Linked DNA regions of Homo sapiens: all the other regions are linked to region 2. The links are contacts of gene promoters, found by promoter capture Hi-C in blood cells and fetal thymus (Javierre and others, 2016). All regions are on one chromosome and are shown on one strand. Each heading gives the region's core, a stretch centred on a gene start or on the middle of the fragment in contact. The rest is flanking DNA. Distances are from core to core; before and after follow the strand shown. Region 1 overlaps ZNF143-AS1 (ZNF143 antisense RNA 1). Region 2 holds the start of ARFIP2 (ARF interacting protein 2). Region 3 overlaps TRIM66 (tripartite motif containing 66).

What was found. The method cuts DNA at HindIII sites, captures the fragments that hold promoters and counts their contacts. A CHiCAGO score of 5 or more calls a contact.
Region 1: a fragment that was not itself captured here is called in contact with the fragment with the promoter of ARFIP2 in region 2 in 1 of 17 cell types (activated CD4 T cells); the score reaches 5.3 in activated CD4 T cells.
Region 3: a contact is called between a fragment that was not itself captured here and the fragment with the promoter of ARFIP2 in region 2, in 1 of 17 cell types (fetal thymus). The highest score is 5.3, in fetal thymus.

Annotation. Positions count from the first base shown.
Region 1 is chr11:9,456,013-9,460,570 of GRCh38, forward strand. ZNF143-AS1 (ZNF143 antisense RNA 1) reads right to left here. Exons shown (of 1, transcript NR_036539.1): 1 at 3,544-4,558. Among named protein-coding and RNA genes, the nearest start is that of ZNF143-AS1, 2.4 kb to the right of the region's middle. RefSeq lists enhancers at 3,369-4,004, 4,204-4,283, 4,374-4,473, 4,534-4,558. The HindIII fragment of the contact is 1,232 bases long and covers 2,353-3,584 here.
Region 2 is chr11:6,478,122-6,482,880 of GRCh38, forward strand. It overlaps ARFIP2 (ARF interacting protein 2), which reads right to left and starts at 3,210. Exons shown (of 8, transcript NM_001376558.2): 1 at 3,110-3,210; 2 at 2,202-2,342; 3 at 1,851-1,947; 4 at 1,019-1,137; 5 at 617-838; 6 at 1-77. The coding sequence starts at 2,300. It overlaps TIMM10B (translocase of inner mitochondrial membrane 10B), which reads left to right and starts at 3,380. Exons shown (of 3, transcript NM_012192.4): 1 at 3,380-3,434; 2 at 3,636-3,731; 3 at 3,924-4,759. The coding sequence starts at 3,396. The coding sequence ends at 4,100. RefSeq lists enhancers at 2,803-4,002, 2,839-2,958, 3,439-3,488. The HindIII fragment of the contact is 2,521 bases long and covers 1,767-4,287 here.
Region 3 is chr11:8,673,183-8,677,555 of GRCh38, forward strand. TRIM66 (tripartite motif containing 66) reads right to left here. Exons shown (of 25, transcript NM_001388022.1): 4 at 1,624-1,701. Among named protein-coding and RNA genes, the nearest start is that of TRIM66, 7.3 kb to the right of the region's middle. The HindIII fragment of the contact is 5,452 bases long and covers 1-4,373 here.

The DNA of each region.
Region 1 (4,558 bases), core at 1,719-4,218, 3.0 Mb after region 2:
CAAATCGGGTATATACACAACCAAATATTTGGCAATAAAAGGGAATTAAGTACTGTTAACACCCTACAACCTGGATGAGGCTTGAAAACATTGTGCTATAATGAAGTCAGACAAAAAAGATTCCATTAAAATGTAATGTCCAGAATAGATAAGTCCAAAAGGGCAGAAAGTTAGTCATGGTTGCCAGAAGCTGGGGGAAAGAAGGAATGGAAGTGACTGCTAATGAGTATGGGGTTTCTTACAGGGGTGATAAAATATTTTGGATTAGATAGTGGTGATGTCTGCACAACCTGAGTATATATATATAGATATATACTCAAGTGTATAAAATGGTGAATTTTATGATAAACAAATTATATCTCAAAAAATTATTTTCACAGGTTTCTTTTTTATTTTATTTATTTATTTATTTATTTATTTATTTATTTATTTATTTATTTATTTTTGAGACAGAGTCTCCCTCTGTCGCCCAGGCTGGAGTGCAGTGGCGCGATCTTGGCTCACTGCAAGCTCCTCCCGGGTTCACGTCATTCTCCTGCCTCAGCCTCCCGGGTAGCTGGGAGTATAGGCGCCCGCCACCACGCCCGGCTAACTTTTTTTTTTAATTTTTAGTAAAGACGGGGTTTCACCGCGTTAGCCAGGATGGTCTGGATCTCTTGACCTCGTGATCCGCCCGCCTCTGCCTCCCAAAGTGCTGGGATTACAGGCGTGGGCCACGGCGCCCGGCATGAAACTTTTTTTTTTTTTTTGAGACAGAGTCTCGCTCTTGCGCCCAACCTGGAGTGAAGTGGCACGATTTTGGCTCATGGCAACCTCCGCCCCGCAGGATCAAGCTATTATCCTGACTCAGCCTCCCGAGCAGTTGGGATTACAGGCACCCACCACTATGGCCGGCTAATTTTTGTTTTTTGCTTTTTTGAGATGGAGGCTCGCTCTGTCACCCAGGCGGGAGTGCAGTGGTGCGATCTCGGCTCACTGCAACCTCTGCCTTCCAGGTTCAAGGGATTCTCCTGCCTCAGCCTCCTGAGTAGCTGGGACTGTAGGCGCATGCCACCACGCCCAGATAATTTTTTGTATTTTTATTATTTATTTATCTTTTTGTTTGCTTTTTTGGGACAAAGTCTTGCTCTGTTGCCCAGGCTGGAGTGCAACGGCACGATCTCGGCTCACTGCAACCTCCGCCTCCCGGGTTCAAGCGATTCTCCTGCCTCAGCTTCCCAAGTAGCTGGGATTACAGGCACCTGCCACCATGCCCGGCTAATTTTTGCATTTTTAGTAGAGACGGCGTTTCACCATGCTGGCTAGGCTGGTCTCAAACTCCCGACCTCAGGCGATCTGCCCACTTCCGCCTCCCAAAGTGCTGGGATTACAGGCGTGAGCCACTGTGCCCGGCCAATTTTTTGTATTTTTAGTAGAGACGGGTTTTCACCGTGTTAGCCAGGATAGTCTTGATCTCCTGACCTTGTGATCCGCCCGCCTCGTCCTCCCAAAGTGGTGGGATTACAAGTGTGAGCCACCGTGCCCAGCCTAATTTTTGTACTTTTAGTAGAGATGCGATTTCGCCATGTTGGCCTGGTTGGTCTCGAACTCCTGACTTCAGGTGGTCCACCCTCCTCGGCCTCCCAAAGTGCTGGGATTACAGGTGTGAACCACCGCACCCGGCCTTTTTTTTTTTTTAGATGGATTCTCACTCTGTCACCCAGGCTGGAGTGGAGTGGTGTGACCCTGGCTCACTGCAACCTCCGCCTCCGGGGTTCAAGCCATTCTCCTGCCTCAGCCTGCTGAGTAGCTGGGATTACAGGCGCCCACCACCACGCCGGGCTAATTTTTGTATTTTTAGTAGAGACGGGGTTTCACCATGGCTCGAACTCCTGACCTCGTGATCCGCCTGCCTCGGCTTCCCAAAGTGCTAGGATTGCAGGTGTGAGCCACCGCGCCCGGCCTGAAATAATTGCTTTTAAGCTTAACTCATCGTTTATCTTTTTTCTATATATATCATATATAATTTCTATATATATAGTATACATATATATCATATATAATTTCTATATATATATAGTATACATATATACTACTTTAATGCTTATAGCATGGTATAAATATGCCAAAACCAACCAATTCTCCAGTAAGTTTTAAGTTACTGAAAGAAGTGTTTTAGAAAATATTATCTTAACAGTTTTTGAAGGGGGCTACAAATAAGTTACCTCTTGTTTAGGAAGTTGGGGAAATTATTTAATTTCTGCATTTAAGAGCCTGGACTAGTACTGATTGACAGGGAAACATTTTCAAGCCATTAATTTGACCGGATATAACACGATATAAGGGAAGGGAGATGAATGGGATAACATTTTAAGCTTATGAATGGCTCTGAATATATGTACATTTGAACTCTGTTCTATAGTCACTGGTAAATACTGTTAACACAACGTTCCATTACCTGTGACAAATCAGAATTAGGTTTCTCTCTGAATCCAGTTACAATTATAGCATCCTATCCACCGCCACCATCATCGCCATTCAATTTTTAGAACAACTCAGTAGCTTCTGGGGATACAAAGATGTCCTGTAATTGTTATCTACAATAAGAGGGCGATTTAAAAATTCTTGAGATTCTGTATTATAGTGTTTTAATGAGTAGCCTACAGGCATGGGACTTAGTGGAACTGCATAAAAATATTCTGATGGGTTAAAAAACACCTCCAATTACAAAACACAGATACATGTGGAGGGAACAGAAATTATAAATTAAAACCATTTGTTTTTCAGCTGGGCTACTTCTTTGTAACAGAGAATGTATCCATTGGGTAGGAGACTGATTTTAACTGAGCAAAATCCTCCAGTTAAAAGTAACCTAATCCTTTTTTTTTTTTTTTTTTTTTTTTTTTTGAGACGGAATCTTGCTCTGTTGCCCAGCCTGGAGTGCAGTGGCGCAATCTCAGCTCACTGCAAGCTCCGCCTCCCGGGTTCACGCCATTTTCCTGCCTCATTCTCCCGAGTAGCTGGGACTACAGGCGCCCGCCACCACGCCTGCTAAATTTTTTGTATTTTTAGTAGAGACGGGGTTTCACCGCGTTAGCCAGGATGGTCTCGATCTCCTGACCTCATGATCTGCCCGCCTTGGCCTCCCAAAGTGCTGGGATTACAGGCGTGAGCCTCCGCGCCCGGCCACCTAATCCATTTTTTATATGTGACACTTTTATTTTAAGGGCTTAAAAAGTAATCCGGGCCGGGCGCGGTGGCTCACGCCTGTAATCCCAGTACTTTGGTAGGCTGAGGTGGGCGGATTACGCGGTCAGGAGTTTCAGACCAGCCTGGCCAACATGGTGAAACCCCGTCTCTACTAAAAACAGAAAAATTAGCCGGGCGTGATGGTGGGCGCCTGTAGTCCCAGCTACTCAGGAGGTTGAGGCAGGAGAAATCGCTTGAACCTGGGAGGCGGAGGTTGCAGTGAGCTGAGATCGTGCCACTGCATTGCAGTCTGGGCTACAGGGCGAGACTCCGTCTCAAAAAACAAACAAACAAACAAAAAACAGTAATCCGAACTGATTTAAACTTCTTTATTAACAGAATATATGTTCAAACAAAGCTTAAAGTCCCATTTTCTTTCCATTGGCGTCTAGGCCCCTATTACTCAACTATCCGTTGGTTAGGGCCTGCACCTCAAGGTAGGCTTAATTGTAAATCAAAATATTTACTATCCACACTTAGAGGGCTATCTGTAACATCGTTTTTATTTATCCCCGTCCATTCGATAATCGTCTGAAATGCAAGACATTAAGTTGAACATCATCCAGCTTTCTCCCTGTTTTTCTAAGCGCGATCCAAATCTGTTACAACAGGGTAGTCTCTCATTCTCTTGGTAGCTCAATTCTACCCCCTGGCCGACTTAAGAAATTTTGAGTCTAATACACCCACCTCATCTTTAGTCGGCCTGGTGCGCCAACGCAAATTTGTACTGAGTACCTTCGGAACTGACTAGTAAGTATATCCAAAGGTTTAGAAAGGGCTGGGTTAAGAGCTACAAGAAGCATTAACCGCAACGGCCACAACTAATTTGTATCCATTCTTAGTAACTTTAGGGAACCAGACTGAATGCTTCTCCCACCCTTTTGACTTTCCTTTATTAGTTCGCAACACAAGAACATACAAAAGACCGTAGCGACAACCATTTCTGACGCCTTCAACTTTTAAATCCAAATTACGTGAAACCACAAAGCATCAGTGGTGTCTCCCCGAGGAATCCAAGACCCCCCGGCCGGTTGCCAAGCCGCCGGAATTTCAGCAGGAGAGGAAGGCTCACCCTCCCACCGCATGGCGATGCCCGGGAGACTGGAGAAGCTCAGGCAGGCTTGGAAGCCAATCCCCGGCATACAGCAGCTCTCGGGAATGCAGAGCCCTAGAGCAAGACCAAGGGCCTCGGCCGACACTGAGAGCCTCCAGGGAGAGGTCAGGTCTCTCTTTCTGTCCTATTTCTCCCTTCGACTTCCCTCCCAGCAGGCTGCTATTGAGCATTCAGCAATCGCCAGACAAAGCCCTTCTGGTCTGCAGAACGCACTCC
Region 2 (4,759 bases), core at 1,960-4,459:
AAGTTCACGGCTCCTAGCAGCGTTTCCCCATTCTTGCATAGTAGTTTCTGTGTCTCTGCATTGTAGCCAAATTCCTCCTGAGGGCAGAAGGGAGGAACAGACCTTGAATAACACTCCCTACCTGACTGAAGCTGTAGAGCCCTTCATTCCCCTCCTCCCCGGGGAGGACACAGCCAGCAAAACTGGAACAACCAAGGACTGCCTCCAGCAAGGCTCTCTTAGCCGGAAAGTTAGTGGGATCACCCTGGGGATACCTGGGGTAGGAATGTGGGTGGTGGGCATTCTTGGGTAAGTTCACAAGACTGGAACAGTCTGAGAGCTAGTGTGGCAAGCAGGGGAGGGGCTCTGATTAGGCTGAGCACGAAGGCATTCTCCCCAGTGCAGAGAGGGGTTATTTGTGAGGCACCTAGTGTGCCCCCTCCCCCACCCCCTCCAACTTCTGGACCTCTGTACAAACCCTTAGGCTGCCTCCACAGGTGAGTGCTGCTGGGGGTAGGGCTGGGCCCACCCTGAAGGGGTTCTCCCTGTGGGCTGCAGGAGGGAGGGAGGATGAGGAATGACTGCCTGGGAGGGCCCATGCCCAGTTCCCCCACCCTCTTTGGTCTGGGTGAGGCACCTGAAGCTCTGGGGACTTCTGGCTGAGGTCAGCAAAGGCATCACCCAGTGCATGCTGGGTCTGCAGCAGGCTGTAGAGGTGGGCTGTCAGTGCCCGGCCCAGCTGCAGGACACTCTCATACTTGCGCTTCGTCTCACGCAGCAACTCAATCTGCAGCTCTAGCTCCAGGTCCACAGTCCGTGAGCCTCGACCAAATCGTTCTGATAACAGTTGCTTTGTGCACTGATTGGGAAATGGGGGAATAAATCAGAGACCCTAACAGCCTCCCCACACAACAGGTATCTACCCCAGCACCCCCCAGGCTCCTACTCTCAGCCACAGATGGGATATTACGATCACGAAGAAAAGGGAAAAAGGTACCCATAAGGAGTTTTGGGGAAGGGAGAGGTGCTTAAATCCTACCTTATAGGTGTTGATGCCCCATTTCTTGACGATGTCAAACTTTTCTCCAGCAATGCCCCGAGCCACCTCATCTCCAGGGCCAGAAGGAGTGGTGCTGTGAGATGGATGGCGGCCAGACCCTAAAGGATCAAGTTCTCTGACACCAGCCTCTCTCAGATACACCAGACACCTCTGTGGCCCCACCCATACTTCTCTTCGAGCACATGAAATTGACTTCCCTGAAGGAGATGCTAGAGACAACTGGATGCTCCTGCTTACTAGGAGGAACTCGGACTTTGCGCGGTGAGAACCAAATCCTGATATACATATGGCCTCCTTGGGGGTTAGAGGAGGGGTTTGCAGGGAGTTGTTGGTGTACAGGGGCAGAGGAAACAGAAGAAAATACACTGAGTTTGGGGGCAGCAGGAGTCAAGGATGGTGGGTCATGATAACAAGAAACCTGGTTGCATTCCCATGTGGAATCTTAGTGTGAGATTCAGGGCTGTTTGTTCCTCTAAACTTTAGAATCTAAAAATTCTGAGAAGCTTCACAAAGTTCCAACTCAGCCTCAAGCTGTAGAGGGGGGGCATTCCTGTGAAGCAGGTCTTAACTTGACTCAGGTGGTGGCAGGGAAAGGACAAATGAGCCATTTCAGGGGCTAAGTGGCAAAAGGGAAATGGATGGACAACGCTGGGAGTTGCTTTTGGGCTGAGGAGAGTCCATGAGGTTCCTACAAGCAGAAGTTCCCAAGATCTCCAGACATAATTCAAGCTTTCCTAGACATATCCTATGCTTCCCCAAACCATTCCTGTCCCCTCCTCCACCCAAGATTCCTGTTTCTGAACATTCATACCTGTGGGGATGAGTCCATCACCAGAGCCCCCATAGCCACCAGACACAATGCTGGTTTCATTGAGGTTGGGTCCTGACACCATCACCTGCTGGAGGTCCTATAGGCCAGAGAAGAGGGGTTGCTTCAGGAACATAGGGGCTGCAGAAGCATTTTGGAGGTGGGAACAAGTTTGGATTCAAGCATCATAAAGATAGTACACAAGGGAAGTCTGCACAGAATCAAAATGATACGTAAAAAGAATGAAGGGAGTCAGATAAGTCAGGGGAAGGCTACTGGAATGGAGGGTGAGAACCTAGGATTTATAAATTGGATTCCTAAATTGAAACAATTAGAAGAATCAAACAGAAGCACCTGCTCCAGCCCATCATCTTCAGGAAGCTGCCTGGCTTCGCCGTTCCCGTGGATAGGGATCTCCATTGTGGCTGCCTTCCCTAGGATCCCGTCCGTCATGGCTAGGAAAGGTATTGGAGTAAAACTCTCCACCCCAGCACCCTGCAAAGCCCAACACAGAAGTTCTGGACACTGGCCAGCACTCTAGAAGAAGGAGGCCTCCTCTGTCATTTCTTTAAAGGCTGTCCCAGGGTTTGAGTGTCCCAGCGTTTGGCCATCATTCCTTTCTTCAGATATATGTATTTCTCCCCTCCAAAACGCACATTTGAAACAGGCACACCAAAGCACGGTGTCTTCTCACAAGCCCCCAACCTCACCAGGACTCTGGTGATTATTTCTACACTCATTCAGCAGACATTTAGTGAGTGCCTACTATGTGTCAGGCACTATTTGTGACAATGAAAATACAACAGTGAAGAGGGAAAGTCTGCTCTCTTAGAACTTATCTCCATGCAGGCGTGTTTATGCTGAGGAGATGAACCCTTTCCAGGGCTCAGGTCTTCACCCCCCTATTCAGGTTTGTTCTCCATTGCTTGGCCTTTCACATTCCTTTAGCGTTTCTTCCCCCTTCCTTCAGGGGGTCTCCCCTCCTCCGTCTCATACACCTCGTCTTCCTCGGGCCCTCCCCACCAGGCCTTAGTTAGATCAGTGGGTGTATGTTCCCAGTCTCTGGTAAAAGCCTCTCTCTCCCAGGATATCGGTGACCCTTCCACAGTCAGTTATGTCTCCCAGGTGTGTGAGTCCCCGCCCCCACCCCCATACACCTGGACATCAGGTGTGTCCTCATCCTTCCCCGGGGCTCGGGGCATCTTGCCCTCTGGACAGGTTTGTGCGTTCAACTTCCCGTCGCCCAAGCATGTTCCTCTCACCTCGGGCCGGGCCGCTCTTCCCCTCAGGGCGCCAGGCCCGGGCCGCGCGGGGACCTCGGGCTCCAGTTCCCGTCGCGATCCTAGCAGCAGGTCAGGGACTCGGCGGAAATGACGTCCTCTCCGGGCAGAAGAAGCCGGCCACGTCGCAGATTATAAGGGCGGAGCTGACGTCGCAGCCAGGGCAGGGCGATACTCGAGCTAGCTCTCGAGATCAGCGAGAGGTTACTTCCGGGGCGGCACCGAGAAGCTGAAACGGAAGTGGCGTACGGCATGCGCCGGTGGCGTGATGGAGCGGCAGCAGCAGCAGCAACAGCAACTGCGAAACGTAAGTGAGAACTAAGTCGTTTCGAGGCCAGACGTTCAGCTCGCATTCCTGCACACATCGCGGGAACCCCACAGGGCCAGGGATTTGAGGGCTGGAAACTTCGGGCTATGGCGCGCGGGCCTGGGAAACTTTGGGCGGCGCGACCTTGACTAGAAGTGTGGGGCCCTTATCGCTGAGTTTGTGGTCCCCCTTTTCTCTCAGCTGCGTGACTTCCTGTTGGTCTACAATCGGATGACAGAACTCTGCTTCCAGCGCTGTGTGCCCAGCTTGCACCACCGAGCTCTGGACGCTGAGGAGGTGGGGAACTGTGTAGGGAGGTTACGCTGCAAGAAGAGTTTAGCGGTAGACTGCTTCCCTCCTCACCCCACTTCCCGTACCTCTGGCCCTGGCCTTCCCACGACCCTCACCCCTAGGCTGGGCATGGGGAAGAAAGGAGGCGGACCCGACAGGGCACCTTTATCCTCCACTTAAACCCTATCTTCCTTCTAGGAGGCCTGTCTGCACAGCTGTGCTGGGAAGCTGATCCATTCCAACCACCGCCTCATGGCCGCTTACGTGCAGCTCATGCCTGCCCTGGTACAGCGCCGCATCGCAGACTACGAGGCTGCCTCGGCTGTGCCAGGCGTTGCTGCTGAACAGCCTGGGGTCTCTCCATCAGGCAGCTAGCCATACCCAACCCCAGGAAGGAAGGCCTTGGATGGACCCTCAGATTGAAGGACCCGGTGGACCTTGGGGTTGGTGAATCCTAAACAGAGAGAATTCGAGGTTGCCTGAAAGCTGGGTGTCCTTGCTCCTTTTCCTGGAGCCAATATACCCAGTTTTTACTCAGTTTGATTTATATTCTGGGCAAGGAAGCTTTGCCTACTTTATTGGCACAATCCGTTGTTCTGTCGTTTAGTGCATATCTGCTGGCTTCAGCCCTGGCAGCTGAGAAATTGTTTTCTATATGTAGAAGGAAAACCTGAGCATTTGCAGGCATCTGGTTAAAGCAGGGTCTGTGTGTACAATTTTAAAACGGGTAATATGTCATGCTCTTAGTTCATCTTCACAACAAAACTATGAGTAAGCGGTATTAGCCTCACTTAACAGATGAGGAAGCAAGATTCCAGAAAGTACCAGAAGGTCATTTTATACAACAGGAGATTGGTTCCTGCCCAGATGACAGAAAATGGGAGCTCTGTCTAGTTGTCCTTAAGTCTGACTGACTTCAGTGGCTCATAACCGTGAGCCAAGTATTTGTTGGTTCATAACTGTTGTTTTGTGAACTATGTCTTACATGTCTAGAGTTCTGCTGGATCTAGGGAAAGGAGGAGCTATCGAAGTAC
Region 3 (4,373 bases), core at 672-3,171, 2.2 Mb after region 2:
CTCCCAAAGTGCTGGGATTACAGGCATGAGCCACCGAGCCCGGCCCACACTCTTAATTAGTGAAATGTTCTTAAGCTGAGGTCCACACACATATTTTCATGAGTTCTGTCCACTAATTTTTTAAAATTAGTGTTTCATTGTGATAATAAAGTTTTAAAAAGTATAGTCTGGATTATCTACATATCTACCACAATATGATTTTGGGGGTAGTGTTAAGAGTCTAGGATTTAGTACACACTAGGCAGTATTACTTGTCTCAGGTTAATGAGCTGAGAGAGGGGCAGACTTAATACACAAATAATGTATTCTTGCCACTTGAAGTCTAAACAACATTGTGGCACAAAATGATGCATGTTTTACAGTACTTGGAACAGAGAAAGGAAGTGGGAAAACTGAGCCATCATCATTGTGGCATATGTTTGCTGAACTTAGCTACAAGAGTGAGCACCACATTTAAGTCATAATGATAGTTTAGTTTAGAAAAACATCACATACATGTGAAATTAATATTATTAATTTGATGGCTTTGTAGTTTTTTACAATTTGTAAACTATATTCAGTTTTATAGTTGTATAACAGCTAAAAGCCAAAGGAAGTTGTAGCTAGTTTTATATTTGTACTTATTTAAGAAACAAAATACAAATCATTTAATTCAAATCTGGGTCTTGGTAATTATGCAAGTTTGAGAAAAATTTCACTCCAGTCTGAAGTCTTTAGGAGCCAAGCCTTCAGGAAGGAGGAAGGGTGATGGGGCTGGGAGAGGCCAGGCTGCCTGGGGTCCAGAAAGATGCCACTACATAAAGCTATAGATAGACCTGCACTTCTAATTCCTTCTGGGCATTATTTAGCAGAAAACAGCCATAGCAGCAGCATGATTAGAGACGAGGACAGTCTCTATTAGAAGGTTCAAGCATGCCTGAGTTTATTTCACTGGGCCAGTAGTTCTCAAACTTTTTGGTCTTGGGAATCCCTTTACATATGTTTACTCATTGAAGACCCCAAAGAGAGTTCATTTATGTGAACTATTGCTATTTACCACACTAGAAGTTAAAGCTGAGAAAATCTATTGCTATTTACCACATTAGAAGTTAAAGCTGAGAAAATTTTAAAACATTAATTTTCATAAAATAATAAACTTGTTATATGTTAACACGAATAACATACTTTTTGGAAAAAATAACTATTTCCTTTTTTCCATTTATTTATTTATTTATTTTTTGAGACAGGGTCTTGCTCTGTTGCCTAGGCTGGAGGGCAGTCGTGCGAAGTTCACTGCAGCCTCAAACTTCTGAGCTCAACCAAACTTCTTGCTTCAGCCTCCTAGGCAGCTAGCACTATAGGCATGTGCCACCACACCCGACTATTTTATTTTCATTTTTATTTTTGTAGAGACCAGGTCTTGCTATGTAGCCCAAGCTGGTCTCAAATTCCTGGACTCAAGCGATCCTCCATTTTGGCCGCCCGAAGTGCTGGGATTATAGGCGTGAGCCACTGCACCCAGCCTAAAAAAAAAAAATCAACTACTTTCAAAAAAATTAATTTAATGAGAAGAGTCACATTGTTTCTCATATGTGCCAAACCCTTTAACATCTGGCTTAATAAAAGACGGCTGGACTCCCATACCTGTTTCTGCAGTCAATCTGTTATATGTTGTTTTGTTCACAGTATATGAGGAAAATCCAGTCTCACACAGACATACAGCTGGAAAAGATAGGAGTACTTTAATAGCCTTATCAGGTAATTGTGGATATTCTTTGATACCACACCAAAATTCAACAGTGGTAGTAGTTTCTTAAATGTTATTTATAAGGTAGACTCTGAACCAAACTTTTCTTATTCTGTTATATTAAAATCTGCTGATCTTGCTCTTTGAACTAGTCTTTTCCCCAGGCACAGTTTTTTAACACCAAGCATTGGTCATTTGGAAAATACCAGTTCAATGACTTATGCAGATGTTCCAAATATCGACACATTTCATTACACAATAACAAAAAATCACATTCTTTAGAATCACCTCGAATCTCATCAGAAAATTCTTTTAAGCATTGAGAAGCTGCCAAATTCATGGAGGCAGCAAAAACTACCAGAATTCTAACTTTTGCTTGAACGCTTGAATTTTATCATTGGCAACAAATACTGTCAATTCACTTTTGAGAAAATATCGGACAAATTCCCAAGCCTGAATAACCACAGTTTGTCTGCCAGTTATTCTTTTTTTAGATGCAGTTTTGCCCTTGTTAACCAGGCTGGAGTACAATGGCGTGATCTTGGCTCATAGAAACCTCCACCTCCCAGGTTCAAGTGATTCTCCTGCCTCAGCCTCCCGAGCAGCTGGGATTACAAGCATGCACCACCACACCCAGCTAATTTTGTATTTTTAGTAGAGACAGGGTTTCTCCATGTTGGTTAGGGTGATCTCAAACTCCCGACCTCAGATGATCCACCTGCCTTGGCCTCCCAAAGTGCTGGGATTACAGGCATGAGCCATCGCACCCGGCCTGCCAGTTGTCCTTTCGTGTAATACTGATGTTTCACTTTTTATTTTTTTAATTATTATTTATTTATTTATTAATTTTTGAGAGAGTCTCGCTCTGTCGTCAGGCTGGAGTGCAGTGGCGTGATCTTGATTCACTGCAACCTCCGACTCCCTGGTTCAAGCGATTCTCCTGCCTCAGCCTCTCAAGTAGCTGGGATTACAGGCATGCACCACTACGCCCAGCTAATTTTTGTATTTTTAGTAGAGACGGGGTTTCACCATGTTGGCCAGGATGGTCTCAATCTCCAGACCTCGTGATCCACCCGCCTCAGCTTCCCAAAGATTACAGGCGTGAGCCACCACATCGTCCATTATGTTTCATTTTTTAAAAGGCTAGTTTAACTTGCAACTCAATAGCACAAGCACAGTTTCTCACTTTGATATGTAGTAGGAATACTTTTTCTTCACACAGAACATCAAAAAGAAATCTAAAAAAGTACTTAAGAATTTCAGGATTGAGATTTAATAAAAATTGTTACCACTTCATCATGGATGGACATTCTTAAGGTAAACTTCTTTTTTTTTTTTTTAACCGGCAGATGCTTAGTGGTAAAGAATATAAGGTTTTGTTCCAGTTTGGTGCCCAAAACATCAGCAGTTTTACATAACATTGCTTTGGCACCATCAGTGCAAATGTCAACCCAGTGAAAAGATCAAATAACACGTTAGCTTTATTATTAAAATTGTTTGACCTGTGAACTCCCTGAAACGGTCTCAGGGACCCCCCACCCCATAAGGTCTACAGACCACACTTGGAGAACTACTGCATTAGACCTTGCATCACAATCCTGGGAATTCAGGGAGGTAGCATGGCTTTCCACCACCAGCAAGTACTACACAGGGTAAGAATATAAAGAAACAGGCATCTCATTTATGTCTTAGAAGAGCAATTGAAGTAACTCCATGAAAGTAAATGGTTAATTTAAAGGCACAGCCACACAATGAGTTTCTGATTTGAGAAGACGAAGGGTCAAATGACCCCATTTCTGCCCCCTTCTTATGGCTGCTTTCATCATAACTTAGTTCTTCCCTCTCCTTCTTATCTCCCCTGACCTAGAAGAGTGTAGGGGACAGAGTTTGCAAGACTGTACTTAAGCCAAGGTAGTAAATTCAAATGCCTACAGGGGCTGGGCAATCTATATGAACGAAGTGCTTTACTTAAAAGAATGTGGGTCTAATGTCTCCAAATCTTAGTTTTCCAAAACCCAGGAAATTATTTTTATTTACATTTTAAAATGTTAACAAAAAGTTAAATTTTAAAACATTGCCTTGCCACAAACCACCTCCTTTTAACATCTTACCACATCTATATCTAAGAAAAGGAAAATATTTACTGGAGTACCTTAACCTTGCTAAGGAATGATGGAACAAGTCATTCCACATCACATTGGGAATAAGAATTTCAAAGATTGTTTGCATGAAGGGTACAGAACAAATTATCATAAAAATAACACTCATTTTAGGGAGAAAATGTGAGCGAGAAATAGTAGGTAATGAGAGTACCTACTCTTTGCTAGGCTGTGTTATATGTGATATATTATTTGTTTGCTTGTTTAATGTATGTCTTAGACATAGTCTTAGGGAAGGACTTTTGTTCACAATTGTACCTGCCCCTCACTTGCCTGGCACCTAGCATAGGAACATAGTACACACTCAATTAATATTTATAAAACGAATGAATGAATCTCATTATTTTTTCATTATACAGACAAGAAAACAGATTCAAAGAGAACATGCTATTTGTTCAATATAATTCAGTGAGTAAAAACAGAACTAGGAGGCTGGGCGTGATGGTCATGCCTGTAATCCCAGTGCTTTGGGAGGGCGAGGTAGGAGG